2 separate regions of the Homo sapiens genome follow, and region 1 is linked to region 2. Evidence: promoter capture Hi-C in 16 types of primary human blood cells and fetal thymus (Javierre and others, 2016). All regions are on one chromosome and are shown on one strand. Each heading gives the region's core, a stretch centred on a gene start or on the middle of the fragment in contact. The rest is flanking DNA. Distances are from core to core; before and after follow the strand shown. Region 1 holds the start of LOC107986720 (a long non-coding RNA gene). Region 2 holds the start of NDUFB2 (NADH:ubiquinone oxidoreductase subunit B2).

The links. Contacts are between HindIII fragments. The CHiCAGO score rates a contact against its expected background, and 5 or more counts as called.
Region 1: a fragment that was not itself captured here is called in contact with the fragment with the promoter of NDUFB2 in region 2 in 1 of 17 cell types (erythroblasts); the score reaches 5.5 in erythroblasts.

Annotation. Positions count from the first base shown.
Region 1 is chr7:140,994,729-141,001,328 of GRCh38, forward strand. LOC107986720 (a long non-coding RNA gene) reads right to left here and starts at 2,024. Exons shown (of 3, transcript XR_001744994.2): 1 at 1,941-2,024. It also overlaps the pseudogene CCT4P1. The HindIII fragment of the contact is 4,084 bases long and covers 636-4,719 here.
Region 2 is chr7:140,695,122-140,701,933 of GRCh38, forward strand. NDUFB2 (NADH:ubiquinone oxidoreductase subunit B2) reads left to right here and starts at 1,587. Exons shown (of 4, transcript NM_004546.3): 1 at 1,587-1,721. The coding sequence starts at 1,624. It overlaps NDUFB2-AS1 (NDUFB2 antisense RNA 1), which reads right to left and starts at 1,956. Exons shown (of 2, transcript NR_024454.1): 1 at 1,794-1,956; 2 at 215-1,699. RefSeq lists an enhancer at 1,596-1,905. The HindIII fragment of the contact is 6,958 bases long and covers 621-6,812 here.

The sequences.
Region 1 (6,600 bases), core at 1,428-3,927, 300 kb after region 2:
ATGGGCTCAAGTGATCCTCCCACAGTGCTCCCAAAGTGCTGGGATAACAGGCGTGAGTCACTGTGTTTGGCCTATGTTGTCTTAAAATAGTCTTAAATACCAACATGGGCAATATAATGAGACCCTGGCTCCACAAAAAGTAAAAGAATTAGCTGGGTGTGGTGGCATGCACCTGTAGTGCCAGGTATTTGAGAGGCTGAGGTGGGAGGATTGCTTGAGCCCAGGAGGTTGAGGCTGCCATTGAGCCATGATTGCACCACTGACCTCCGGACTGGGTGATAGAACAAGACCCTGTGTCAATTTTTTTTTCCTGAAACATATTTAAAAAAAACAAACTTTTTTTTTTTTTTTGAGATGGAGTCTCGCTTTATTGCCCAGGCTGGAGTGCAATGGTGTGTTCTCAGCTCACTGAAACCTCTGCCTCCTGGGTTCAAGCGATTCTCTTGCCTCAGCCTCCCAAGTAGCTGGGACTACAGGTGTGCACCACGTTCAGCTAATTTTTGTATTTTTAGTAGAGACAGGGTCTCACCATGTTGGCCAGGCTGGTCTCGAACTCCTGGCCTCAGGTGATCCACCTGCCTCGGCCTCCCAAAGTGCTGGGATTACAGGCATGAACCACTGTGCCCAGCCAAAAAAGCTTTTTGAAAGTACAATTCAAAAAATTTTAAATAAAATTTTAGACTTACCAAAAAGTTGCAAAAATATACAGAGAATTCCTGTATATTCTTCACCCAACTTCCCTTAATGTTAACATCTTATAACCAGAGTATAATTATCAAAACTAAGAAATTTTTTTCCACCGTAAAGTTACTACTTTTCTCTTTGTAAATAATATTTTTTGTGGGGGGGATACTTTGAGAGCATACAAATATCCTGCTTCTCCTTAAACTTTTGCCCATCAGTTTTAGCATCCATCAGTGGATACTGCTTGCAGTTATTATTACTGCGATATTCTAACCGAGATTTTCTATTTCCTTATTCCTTACATTTTACAATTGGAATTCTTCTGTAAAGTAAAGTACCTTCTCCTCAATTTATTTATACTGTATGGACTCAAAGATTTTTATTTAACCATTGGGTTTTAATCTAGTACTATCATAATATAGTACTATGCTTAATCCAGTAGTATTCTTATTTATTTTGTTGCTCAAATTGTTTCAGCCTTGGCCATAGGGGGCTCTTTCAGTTTGGCTCTCGTGCCCTTTCGACAAGATCCCCATCCTTTTTTTTATGGGGGGGCACTTCATCACTTTTTAGCATAATTTGTGTCTTAACCTCTCCCAACTCTGGAATCCACTATTTTTCCAAGGAACCACAATTTCTTTTGTTGGAGAATAGTATTTAGAAAACAAGGTCAGCCAGGCGTGGTGGCTCACGCCTGTAATCCCAACACTTTGGGAGGCCGAGGAGGGCAGATCACGAGGTCAGAAGATCGAGACCATCCTGGCTAACATGGTGAAACCCCCGTCTCTACTAAAAATACAAAAAAAAAAAAAAAAAAAAATTAGCTGGGCGTGGTGGCAGGCACCTGTAGTCCCAGCTACTTGGGAGGCTGAGGCAGGAGAACGGTGTGGGCCCAGGAGGCGGAGCTTGCAGTGAGCCGAGATCGTGCCACTGCACTCCAGCCTGAGTGACAGAGCAAGACTCAATCCCCAGAAAAAAAAAAAAAAAAAGAAAACAAGGTCTACGACTTGCATTTTGGAGTCAAAAAACATGGATATTACTAACAGCTAAGTATACATGCTGCCAGATTTTTTTTCAGTAAGTTTAAACTAAACACACTGCCACCAATTTTTCCAGTTCTACTAAATCATATTGTCAATTCAAATGGATTATCATTCATCTATCTTTCTCTTTATTCTTCCCTCCATCCTTCTGTCTCTCCTACTCTCTTTCCTTTTATTCTTACTTTCTCTTTTAATATAATGAGAAAAATGTACCTCATTTATTCTTCAATCCAGGTGAGTTTGGATATTTCTTTCATTCATTCAACAAAAATTTAGTGATGCCAACTGAGTCAGATTCTAGGCAATAGAGACATCCTCTTTTGGTTAATATTTTCATGGAATATCTTTTTCCATTTTCTCACTTTCATTCTACGTGTATCTTTGGATCTAAAGTGAGTCTCTTATGGACAGCATATAGTTGGATCATGTGTTTTTATCCATTCTTTTAATCTCTGTCTTTTGATTAGAGACTTTAATCCATTTGTATTTAAAGTAATTACTGATAAGCAGGGACTTCTGTTATTTTGCTATGTTTTCTACATGCCTTATGGCTTTTTAGTTCCTCATTTTCTTTTAATTTTTATATAACTTTCCTTTATTTTTTTTAGAGAAATGTTTAAATTCCTTTATCATTTCTGTGTGTGTGTGTGTGTGTGTGTGTGTGTGTGTGTATTTTTTTTCCTGTTGCTCAGGTTGGAGTGCAGTGGCTTGAACATGGCTCACTGCAGACTTAACCTCCTGGGCTCAATTGATCCTCCTGCTTCAGCCTCCTGATTAGTTGGGACTAGAGGCACAGGCACATGCCACCACGTCCAGCTAACTTTTGTATTTTTTTGTAGTGACAAAATGCCTGGCTCCCAAAAGGGTAAAATGAGAAAAATAGAGGAGAAAAGAGGGTTCTTACCCTTTAAATCCCCTGAAGTCACTTCAGCTAAAGGCAGAGGGGCTTGCAAGAATAGGAGGAGGTGCAACAACAATGGCTACCTCTTTGTATGCACTTCTGTGTTCAGAAGCAGACCATTTGTCTGAATAATGTCACTGTAGACATGAGTGTACAAATACCTCTTTGAGACCACCAATGTCAGTGGTCTGATTTTTAAAAATCAATTTTAATTACATAATTTTCAACATCTCATATGGGTCCCCACATTATTCTTGCATTTTACAATTTCTCTTGTGTTCTCTCCTATTTGGTTTTCCAAATGGATTGTTTTTCCAACTGCACTCCAAAAATGTCTATTAAAATTTTGATAAAAATTATAAGATAAATTATATAAATTAAATGTAAATAATTATCTTTTTGGGAAACCAAATATTTAATGTGTTCACTAAATTGTATCAATGCAATTTCAAGCAAATGCCAATTGGAAGACCAAGCCCAGGAATTCATAGAGGAAACAATCTTCCAAATAATAAGGAGCACTAAGGTGATCTTCCCCTTCAGCCACAATACTAGTAGCTATAAGAGTGTAAGTCAGTCAGTATTATCCAGATTTCTGAGCATTTACCACAGCATCAATTTTCAGAATTCTCTGGACAGTTTCATTTGCTAGGGTCAGAGCAATAAATGAAATCACAAAAGTTGGGCAACCAGTTTTCCAAAATGGAAATACTGCCCTTTTGATACTAATGCCTGCAATTTTTTTCTTGTTAGGCATGTTGATTTCTTAGTTCTGTTACTGTAGAAATGGGATTCAAAGCCAGCATTTTCAGCTAGTGTAGTTGGAATGACCTCCATAGCATCTGCAAAACATGAACACTGTAAAATTCCATACCACTCAATGTTCACAAACATTCAGTTAACCATAGGGCCAATTCTACTGGAGCACCACCTCCTGCAGTAAGAGCTCTCTTCACCAAACAGCAAATAATACATAGCACATCGTGAATGGAAGGCTCAATTCTTCAGTCCTATGACAATTTTAACTGTTTTTCCAGCACTTGTACAGCCTGTAGTCTTGAGCAGTTTTCCAGAACCATTTAAACTGACCTTCTCAGCTAACTCAGCAAAACCCAGCATGTCAGTGTGACTTGGTCAGTACGAGCAACTGGCTTGGTTCCAATTGTCTTACAAATGAATTCAACATCTTCTTTTTCAATATTCTTAACCAACATAATAATTTTGTTCAGGAAATGTCATGCAAGATCACTAGGAGCGTCTCTAAAGTGTCCTGTATGAGAAGGACATTATATCCCATTTGTAAAAGTTTGCTATACTAAACTTAAAATATAGGCTCTCTCTCTCATAGCATTTAGTCCATCTGAACATTGTCAGAAACTGCTACTTGATTTCCAAATCTGTTGGGAGCAGATAAGCAAAACTGAATGTGCCCAATCTTAGCCTTTTCAAATTGGGTTATGCCAGAATTTACCACTTTCTGGGTGAGAATAAGACCTTCCACCAACTCACAGTCATCAATTTTTCCACCAAGTTTCTTAACCGCAGTCATATATTGCTTAACAATGGGGTACAATCTGAGAACGGCATTGTTAGGTCATTTTGTCATGCAAACATCATAGAGTGTACTTACACAAACCTAGGTGGTATAGCCTACTACACACATAGTTACATAGTATAGCCTATTGCTTGTAGGCTATAAACATGTACAGCATGTTACTATACTGAATACTACATATCTAAACATTGAAAATGTACAGCAAATACATGGCATTATAACCACTGTCATATGCAGTCTGTTGTTGACTGAAATACTGTTACATGACACATGACTGTATGTTAATATCTCTAAGATTTACAGTAGTACCTGTAGCTGGGTCACTTTCATCACTGCATTTACACTCGTCGGAGGAAGCAGAACTTGAATACTGAAAGACAACCTGTGAGTTCAAAGAACTGGTGGCACTGTTTAACAAAGTTTCTCTGTCATTCAGTTCCACAGGTTGAGATATGTTACTTAAGATCTCAATACCCTTTTCCAAAGACTTCTGGGATGACTTGGAAGTGATGGTTGGATGAATCCCTTTCTGAAGAAGCTTGGCCCAGGAACCTATGAGAGAGCCAGCAATAGTGCCAACTGATGCAGTGCTATCTCCTGCTTCTATATCTTAGCCCCCCCAGCATTCTGCTGCTGGATGTGACACTTGCATTTGTTTCAGAATGGTGGCACCATCATTTGTAGTGATCACATTGCCTTTTCCACCTTAAATCTTTTTTCCCATTCCTTTTGGTCCAAGGCTTGTTTTAATAGCATCAGCAACAGCTTTGGCTGTGATGTTGCTGAACCAGATCTCAGCCTGCTTGTCATATCCCTGACAGGCACCTTTCACACAGCAGCTGGCAGCCCTGGTGGGTGCCCTGCTCCATGGTCCAAACAACATCTTTACTTGGGCATGTTAACTAAAACTTTCTCCTTATGTGTTACATCTTGTTTTGTTTTTTGTTTGTTTTGCTGTCAGGTTCTAAAGATGTGCTCCTTTAGGGTTAGGGAAAGGCTCCAGGATGGCTATGGAATTCCACTAGGGAGCTAGAGGGCCACAGGAATCTACCAGCTGGGGGACTTTGGCCAAGTTACTTTAAACCATAGTTCTCAAAGTGTGATCTCCAGACCAGCATCATCAGCCACACCTGGGAACCTATTACAAATACAAATTCTTGGGCCTTGTTGGAGATCTATTGAACAAGAAACTGGGAGTGGGGCTTAGCCATTTATGTTGAACAAACCCTCAAGATGCTGCTGATGAATACTTAAGTTTGAGAAATACTGTGTTAAACCATATTTCTTTTTCTTTTTTTTTTTTTTTTTTTGAGACGGAGTCTCGCTGTCGCCCAGGCTGGAGTGCAGTGGCGCAATCTCGGCTCACTGCAGGCTCCGCCCCCTGGGGTTCACGCCATTCTCCTGCCTCAGCCTCCGGAGTAGCTGGGACTACAGGCGCCCGCCACCTCGCCTGGCTAATTTTTTGTATTTTTAGTAGAGACAGGGTTTCACCGTGTTAGCCAGGATGGTCTCGATCTCCTGACCTCGTGATCCGCCCGCCTCGGCCTCCCAAAGTGCTGGGATTACAGGCGTGAGCCACCGCGCCCGGCCAACCATATTTCTTAACCTTGGCTGCACAGTAGAGCCACCTAAGGAGCTTTTCTCTATCTACCCCTATTCTGATTAGTCTGGAGGGGGACCGGTGACAGGAATCTTGATTCTAATGCATAACCAGAGTTGAGAACCACAGCTCTGAACTTGTTTGTGTATAAAATGGGGGAAAATAATACTTACCTCTTAGAGCCGTTGTAGTGATTAAGTGATACAACTTACAGTAAGAGTGAAGCAGGCCCGGGTGGCTCACGCCTGTAATCCCAGCCCTTTGGGAGGCCGAGGCAGGTGGATCACTTGAGGTCAGGAGTTAGAGACCAGCCTGGCCAACATGGCGAAACCCCGTCTCTACTAAAAACACACAAAAAAATTAGCCGGGCGTGGTGGTGGGCGCCTATAATCCCAGCTACTCCGGAGGCTGAGGCAGGAGAACGGCGTGAACCCGGGGGGCAGAGCTTGCAGTGAGCCGAGATCGCACCACTGCACTCCAGCCTGGGCGACAGAGCGAGACTCTGTCTCAAACAAACAAAAACCAAAAAAACTAGCTGGGTGTGGTAGCGCACGCCTGTAGTTCCAGCTACTTGGGAGGCTGAGACAGGAAAATCGCTTGAACCTGGGAGGCGGATGTTGCTGTGAGCCAAGATGGTGCCACTGCACTCCAGCCTGGGCAACAGAGCGCGACCCTGTCTCAAAAAAAAAGAGTGAAGCAGAGTGTCTAGCAAATGGTGAAGCACTTGACAAATGATAGTTACTGGTATAATAATACTCAGAGAGGTTAGAGCTACATCACCAGGTCAGGAAAAGACAGTGGGACTTTGAGGGCTCAG
Region 2 (6,812 bases), core at 337-2,836:
TTTCTTGACCCGCTATACTCCCTGGTCAGATGGGTACTGCTGGTAGTTCCCAGACTTTGATATTCAGGTTAGAAAATGCCATCAAGTCCTACTGATCTGTGGCATGTGCACACACACACACACACACACACACTCTTTATGTATAAATATCATGCAGGTGCTACCTGCCAGCATAATATACACTTAGGGCAAATTTCATTGTACTTCAAATTATCTTCTTGGTAATTTTTAATAGATTTTGCTAACTCCTTGGTAACTTTTATTACAAGGTAAAACAAAACTGATGAAAGTGGCTGACATACCGGGGACGTGAGCAGAACGGCTTGGCCACTTCCTTAACATGGCCCCGGGTTCACCCGCTAGTCCGGAACTACAGTTTCTCTGCCACAGTGTCTGCGCCTGTCCACTTGCAGGCATTAATTTTGGTGAATATGAAGAGAGTTAATATAACCAGTGTGTCCTCTTCTCCATGGCAGCGCCCAGGGACAGACCTGCAGTGACCACCACCTGCCCCTCTCTGCCAGGCCCAACCACGGGCTTTCTTCTCAGAGCTGAGCTGATGTGGCCGTCTGGCTGACTAGGAGGGGCCCGGGGTCAGCCTGGAGGGGGGGTATTTGTAAAGCTTAATTTCTCTTTTTTTTTTTTTTTAGGTAAAATCACAGTTTATCCCTGCACCTTCATAGATTATGTTGCTCGTCTTAGAGACCACCAGGCAGCGAATGGAGTCAAGCCCTTGCGCTCTCCGAGAGTCCTGCCCTGACTACAGGACTAGTTTCTCCCATTCTTTCCTTCTCCAGGATAAAGTTCCTCATTCCTGTCTTTTAGTGAGCAGTATGGTTTAGGTGGACAGAGATTCCTTTGGTGCAGTTTTTTTCAAGGAGGTGATGTTATTTTTTCCTTCCCAGGTCTTGAGGGGACATTCAAAGCAGGCAGAGAGGGGTTGGGATGGCTCCAGATGGCTGGGAGGGAGAACACCAGCTGGTCACGCAGCCCCTCGTGCCAGTGCGCATCAGGTACAGTGTGGAGGCGGGAAAGGGACAAAAAGACGGCAGTCTCTTCCCTGAGCCTATGCCAACCCAGCCTTAAAGCCAGTGGATCGAATCAAGCCATTTGTGGCATTATCTATTGCTGCGTACGAACTTAGCCTGGCACAATGCCTGTAATCCCAGCTACTCGGGAAGTTGAGGCAGGAGAATCGCTTGAGCCTGGGAGGCAGAGGTTGCAGTGAGCCGAGATGGTGTCACTGCACTCCAGCCTGGGTGACAGAGCAAGGCCTTGTCTCAAAAAGAAAAAAAAAAAAAAAAAAGAATTATACACCACTCAGTTTTAGGAGGGGCAGAACACGGGGAGAGCCCTACAGGATCAGAGGGGCAACCAACAAGCTGTTTCAGAAGGCATGGGGCAGCTCAGCAACCATAAGTTATGCGTGGGCTTTGCTCTCGGGAGAGAGGTTTCCTGCAGCCGAAGGACTCACAGCTAATCTGGGTCAGGAGCGGCTGCCGGCTCCCCCACTCCTGGAGATGAGCGACTCTGTGACGTCACGGGAGGCGCGGGCGGAGCGCCGGGGAAGCGAAGTAGGCAGGGGCGAGGCGGCTGGGGACCGCGGGGCGGACGGGAGCGAGTATGTCCGCTCTGACTCGGCTGGCGTCTTTCGCTCGCGTTGGAGGCCGCCTTTTCAGAAGCGGCTGCGCACGGACTGCTGGAGATGGTGGAGTCCGTCAGTGAGTGTGGGGCTGGGGATGGGGGCCTCGCCGGCCTGTAGCGGACAGCGCGGGTCCCTGGGACGCTCTCACCTTGACTGGGGCGCCTGAAGAGGCCGCGTCCCGAGGCATGCTGGGACCTGTAGTCCGCGTGTCTCCTGAAGCCGCGACTCGAGGAGAGGGACCCCGCTGGCCGGAGGGAGAGGGAGAGACTTCGCTGGGCAGATGGGACACCGTGTGCAGGGCCGTCATGGTAGTAGGGGCCGCCTGCCCTCGGGAGACGCACGCGTGAATGCGGAGCGGGCTGAGCCAGTCGGCGCCGGCGCGGGCGGTCCAGGCGGAGGAAGCAGCGTGCGCGGCGGGTGTGGACGCTCCTGGAGCGAGGCGGGGGGCGGCGGCGGTGAGGCCTAGGGAGGGCGCGGTCCAGGGTCCCGGTGCCTGGCTGCGGAATTTAGGGTAGAGTCTGTTCGGCAGCCTTTAATCGGAGACGTCACGTGGCCGCTTTTTAATGCTGAAAAATCACTCTGGCTGCAGGGAGTGGAGGCTGTCGCCCAGAGAGAGCGCCGTCGGGTGAGAGGAGCAGAAAGCCGGAAGCCAACGCTGGGGCAGCCGTGGCGTTTAGGAGAGTGACAGGCAGAGCCGCCCGCGAGGTGGCCCGAGACGCAGACCGGAGGGCGGAGGGCTGGGGGTGCGAGGTAGGGAGCGGGTGCGAGGTAGGGAGCAGCTGCCGAAGCCGAGTTAGTGGTGTGCAGAGATTCCGTAAGAGCAGGACTGGAAAAGAGTCATGGATGATTCCAGGTCCCTTAGATCATCAGCTACACTTTACCAAGAGGCAGTGTGGGGTCGTGATTCCAAGCGGGATTCTGGCCGCACAGTGGCTGGGTTCAAATCCCACCTCTGCCACACTCCAGCTGTGGGACCTTGGAAAAGTTTCTTATTCTCTTAATGCCTCAGTTTCCTCACCCATTTGGCGTCCATTTGCAAGGAACTAAATGAGTTACTGTTATCTAAAGCGTGTTTGTGTGTTTTAGGAGATGGGGTCTAACTCTGTCAGGCAGGCTGGAGTGCAGTGGCGCGATCCTAGCTCACTGCAGCCTCTAACTCCTGGGCTCAAGTGATTCTCCAGCCTCGGCCTCCCAAAGTGTTGGGAATACAGGCGAGCCACTGCGCTTGGTCTCACTAAAGTGTTTAAAACAATTGCTGGTGCCTGCTAAGGACCGTACAAGTATTCTTTAACTGTTGTTGTTATTAAGGAACTGAGGCCCAGGAAATGAAAGGAGTGACTTGCCTGAAGTCCCACATGGATGAAGAATCTGGAGCTGGGGCAGGTGTGGGGTGGGCAGAAGGCAAAGCCCTGTGTGACTTGGGCAAAGACAGTGATGGAGAGCCATGAGCGACAGCCCTTGGTCCTGCATGAGGAGATGGGGGAATGCCGATCTTCCCTGAGGTGCTGGCTTGTTCGTAACACACACTTGTTTCAGAGTGTGTGATAATTAAGTGCATAAATGTTTATGGAGCATCTTCTATATGGCTGCTCCTTTCTAGGTGCTGAGGATATAGCAGAATACGAGAGAGAATGAAGTGTACATTCTGGAGAGGAGAGACCAGTAGAAAAGAAAGACCTTTTTTGAGTACTGTTAAGGGTTATGAAGAGAATACAGCTGGGGATTAATATGGAGAATGCGTGGTGTGGGAGTAGAAGGGATATTGTATTTGGGGATGGCGTGGGAATGCCTGGGAGTGTGATTTGAAGCGGGACCTGAGGGATGAGAAGTCAGCCATGCAGAGACCTCAAGGGAAGAGCCCGGTGGACATAAGAGGGCAGAGGAGGCATCAGGTGGAGAGGCCAGAGCCCGCAGGGTTGGCAGGAGGCCAGGCTGGAGTGGAGCGTAGGGGAAGAGTGGGAGAGACCAGGTCACAGGGACAAGTGTGGGGGCCGGATTAGAGGGGGCTTTGGAGGACTCGGAATTTTATTCTAAGAATCACAGGGAGCCATTGGAGTTTTAAAGCAGGAAAGTAATGTGGTCTGATTTATTTTTTAAAAATGTAACTTTGTCCAGGCGCGGTGGCTCACACCTGTAATCCCAGCACTTTGAGAGGCTGAGGCGGGCGGATCACCTGAGGTCAGGAGTTCGAGACCAGCCTGGCCAACACGGTGAAACCCCATCTCTACTAAAAACACAAAAATTAGCTGGGCATGGTAGTGTGCGCCTGTAATCCCAGCTACTGGGGAGGCTGAGGCAGGAGAATTGCTTGAGCCCAGGAGGCAGAGGTTGCAGTGAGCCGAGATCGTGCCACTGCATTCCAGCCTGGGTGACAGAGTGAGACCCCGTCTCAAAAAAATAAAAATAAAAATGTAACTAATAGAGTTATGGTGCATTTTTGTTTTTAAACTTGACTCTCAAACATTTGAAGTTGGAACAGCCATTATTTCCTTGGATGTTGTTTCTTCCCCATTCTCTTTCCTTCTTACAGGACTTGCTGATAGTGTCTTACTTCCTTATGTTTTTTGATCTTGAGCTTGTTTTCCCTGGAATTTCTTTGAGATCGTGCTTCTCTTAGTCTCTTGAGGGTGCCACCCCAATTCAGGCTCACATTAAATTCTCGGCTTGGGGTTTTTGGTCCACACAGGTCCAACGCAGGTAATGTGAATTTGGGTGCAAATCTACCTGAGGACTGGCTTCTGATAACAAATTCTTGTTCCCTTGTCCATGGAAGGTTTATTTCTTGTTCACCCTTTTACCATATGGGGTTGCAGCTTTATTCAGTGACCTCGTCATTAGCCTTCCCACCTTGGGTGGGCCCCAGGCTGCGTCTCTTTCCCCACACCTCATGTAGCTATCCTGGTGGAGGTTCAAGGGCTCCCGGTGAAGGCAGCTTCAGTGATTGATTGCTTAGCTTCCAGGCCTTGTTTTTACTTGAATTTTGCTCTTGGTGGATTCCTTCCTTTTGTGCCTGGTCAGTGATGTTTGTAAAAATCTTAAAAATCTCATCTAGCAGCAGAGTTGTTAATTTGGAGGGTTGTTCAGGGTATCTAGTTTGCCACAATGCAGTTCACAACCTGGTTTGGAACATAACATTGTGAATTAGGTGTTGAGTCTTTGCATTCCTTAATCATGGCAATCCTTGTCATTGTTCCTGTGATATAATTGCAGACTTTCAAATCTTTGTTCCAAAAGGTTTCCATTTTGCAGTCCCTACTTCAGGTTATGATTAAAACAACATGTCACTCTAGCAATAACGAAGCGTGGGGAGCTGCTAAGATGGGTTTGAACTATAATGCTGGCATCGGCATTACTCAGATCTTTTTTGTTTTTTTGATACAGAATTTCGCTCTTGTTGCCCAGGCTGGAGTGCAATGGCACGATCTCAGCTCACCACATCCTCTGTCTCCCAGGTTCAAGTGATTCTCCTGCTTCAGCCTCCTGAGTAGCTGGGATTACATGCATGTACCACCATGCCCAGCTAATTTTGTATTTTTAGTAGAGACGAGGTTTTTCCACGTTGGTCAGGGTGGTCTCGAACTCCCGACCTCAGGTGATCCGCCTGCCTCGGCCTCCCAAAATGCTGGGATTACAGGCATAAGCCACCGTGTCCGGCCTTCAAATCTTGTTTTAATCAGTTTTACTGCTGGGCACTTATACCTAGATTGTATCAAAAAGCTATCAAAGAAGAAGGCTCTTGGCCGGGCACAGTGTGGCTCACGCCTATAATCCCAGCACTTTGGGAGGTCAGGGCAGGCGGATCACCTGAGGTCAGGAGTTCGAGACCAGCCTGGCCAACATAACGAATCCCTGTATCTACTAAAAATACAAAAATTAGCCGGGCATGGTGGCACATGCCTGTAATCCCAGCTACTCGGGAGGCTGAGGCAGGAGAATTGCTCGAACTGGGAGGCAGAGGTTGCAGTGAGCCAAGATTGTGTCACTGCACTCCAGCCTGGGTGACAGAGTGCGACTCCGTCTCAAAAAAAAAAAAAAGCTCTTGTTATACTATATTGAATGATCCTGCATGGTTTATTTACATAATGTAATATCTATATGCACAGCTAGATCCTGAATGAATAATATAATTGGTATATGAGGACATTACGGAAACAGTATGCTACGTCATTCAAGTTGTAAAGTGGCGATATTTGGTAGGACCTTTTAAACATGATACTTAAAAAAGTACATATATACACACATCTGCAAAAACTAAAAATCACCTTATTCATAATTAGTTATTAATACCTTAAATAGAGCATTCCAAATAAAAGTGTTAAATTTTGGATGACTATTTAGAAAAAAAAATGGAATTTATCATTTCAATATGGTAACATTGGTTTTATCATGCTGGTTGGAATTCTAGTTAAAAGTTATGTCTTTGATTAATAAAAGGAGAAAATTGTTAATGGTGTGTGTCTGTAGGCAACAGCTTAGGCTTTGCCATCACACAGCATCTCACTGGTAAATCATTAATAATTACAGGCCTTATCATAACATTATGAAAATTAAATGAATTAAAACTTATAAAATGCTTAGTGTGGTATCTGGCACATGGTAAACACTCAATAACTACCAGTCATCTTTTAGAGTGGGGGAGGATAAAAACAGTCTGCCAGCCTGGCAACATAGGGAAACCCTGTCTCTACAAAAAAAATATAAAAATTAGCCAGGTCTGGGGGTGTACACTTGTATGTAATCCCAGCTACTTGGGAGGGAGGCTGAGGCAGGAGGATTGCTTGAGCCCAGGAGGTGCTCAGTCAGCAGAAGGATCGCTTGAGCTAAGGTCACGCCACTGCACTCTAGCCTGGGCGACAGAGCCTATCTTTAAAAAAACAAACAAAACAGCCGGGCACGTGGCTCACGCCTGTAATCCCAGCACTTTGGGAGGCCAAGGTGGGTGGATCACCTAAGGTCAGGAGTTCGAGACCAGTCTGGCCAACACGGGGAAACCCCGTCTCTACTAAAAAAAAAACAAAAATTAGCTGGGCATGGTGGCGTACACCTGTAGTCCCAGCTACTTGGGAGGCTGAGGCAGGAGGATCGCTTGAACCCAGGAGGCGGAGGTTGCAGTGAGCCAAGATTGTTCCATTGCACTCCAGCCTGGGTGACAGAGTGAGACTCTCGC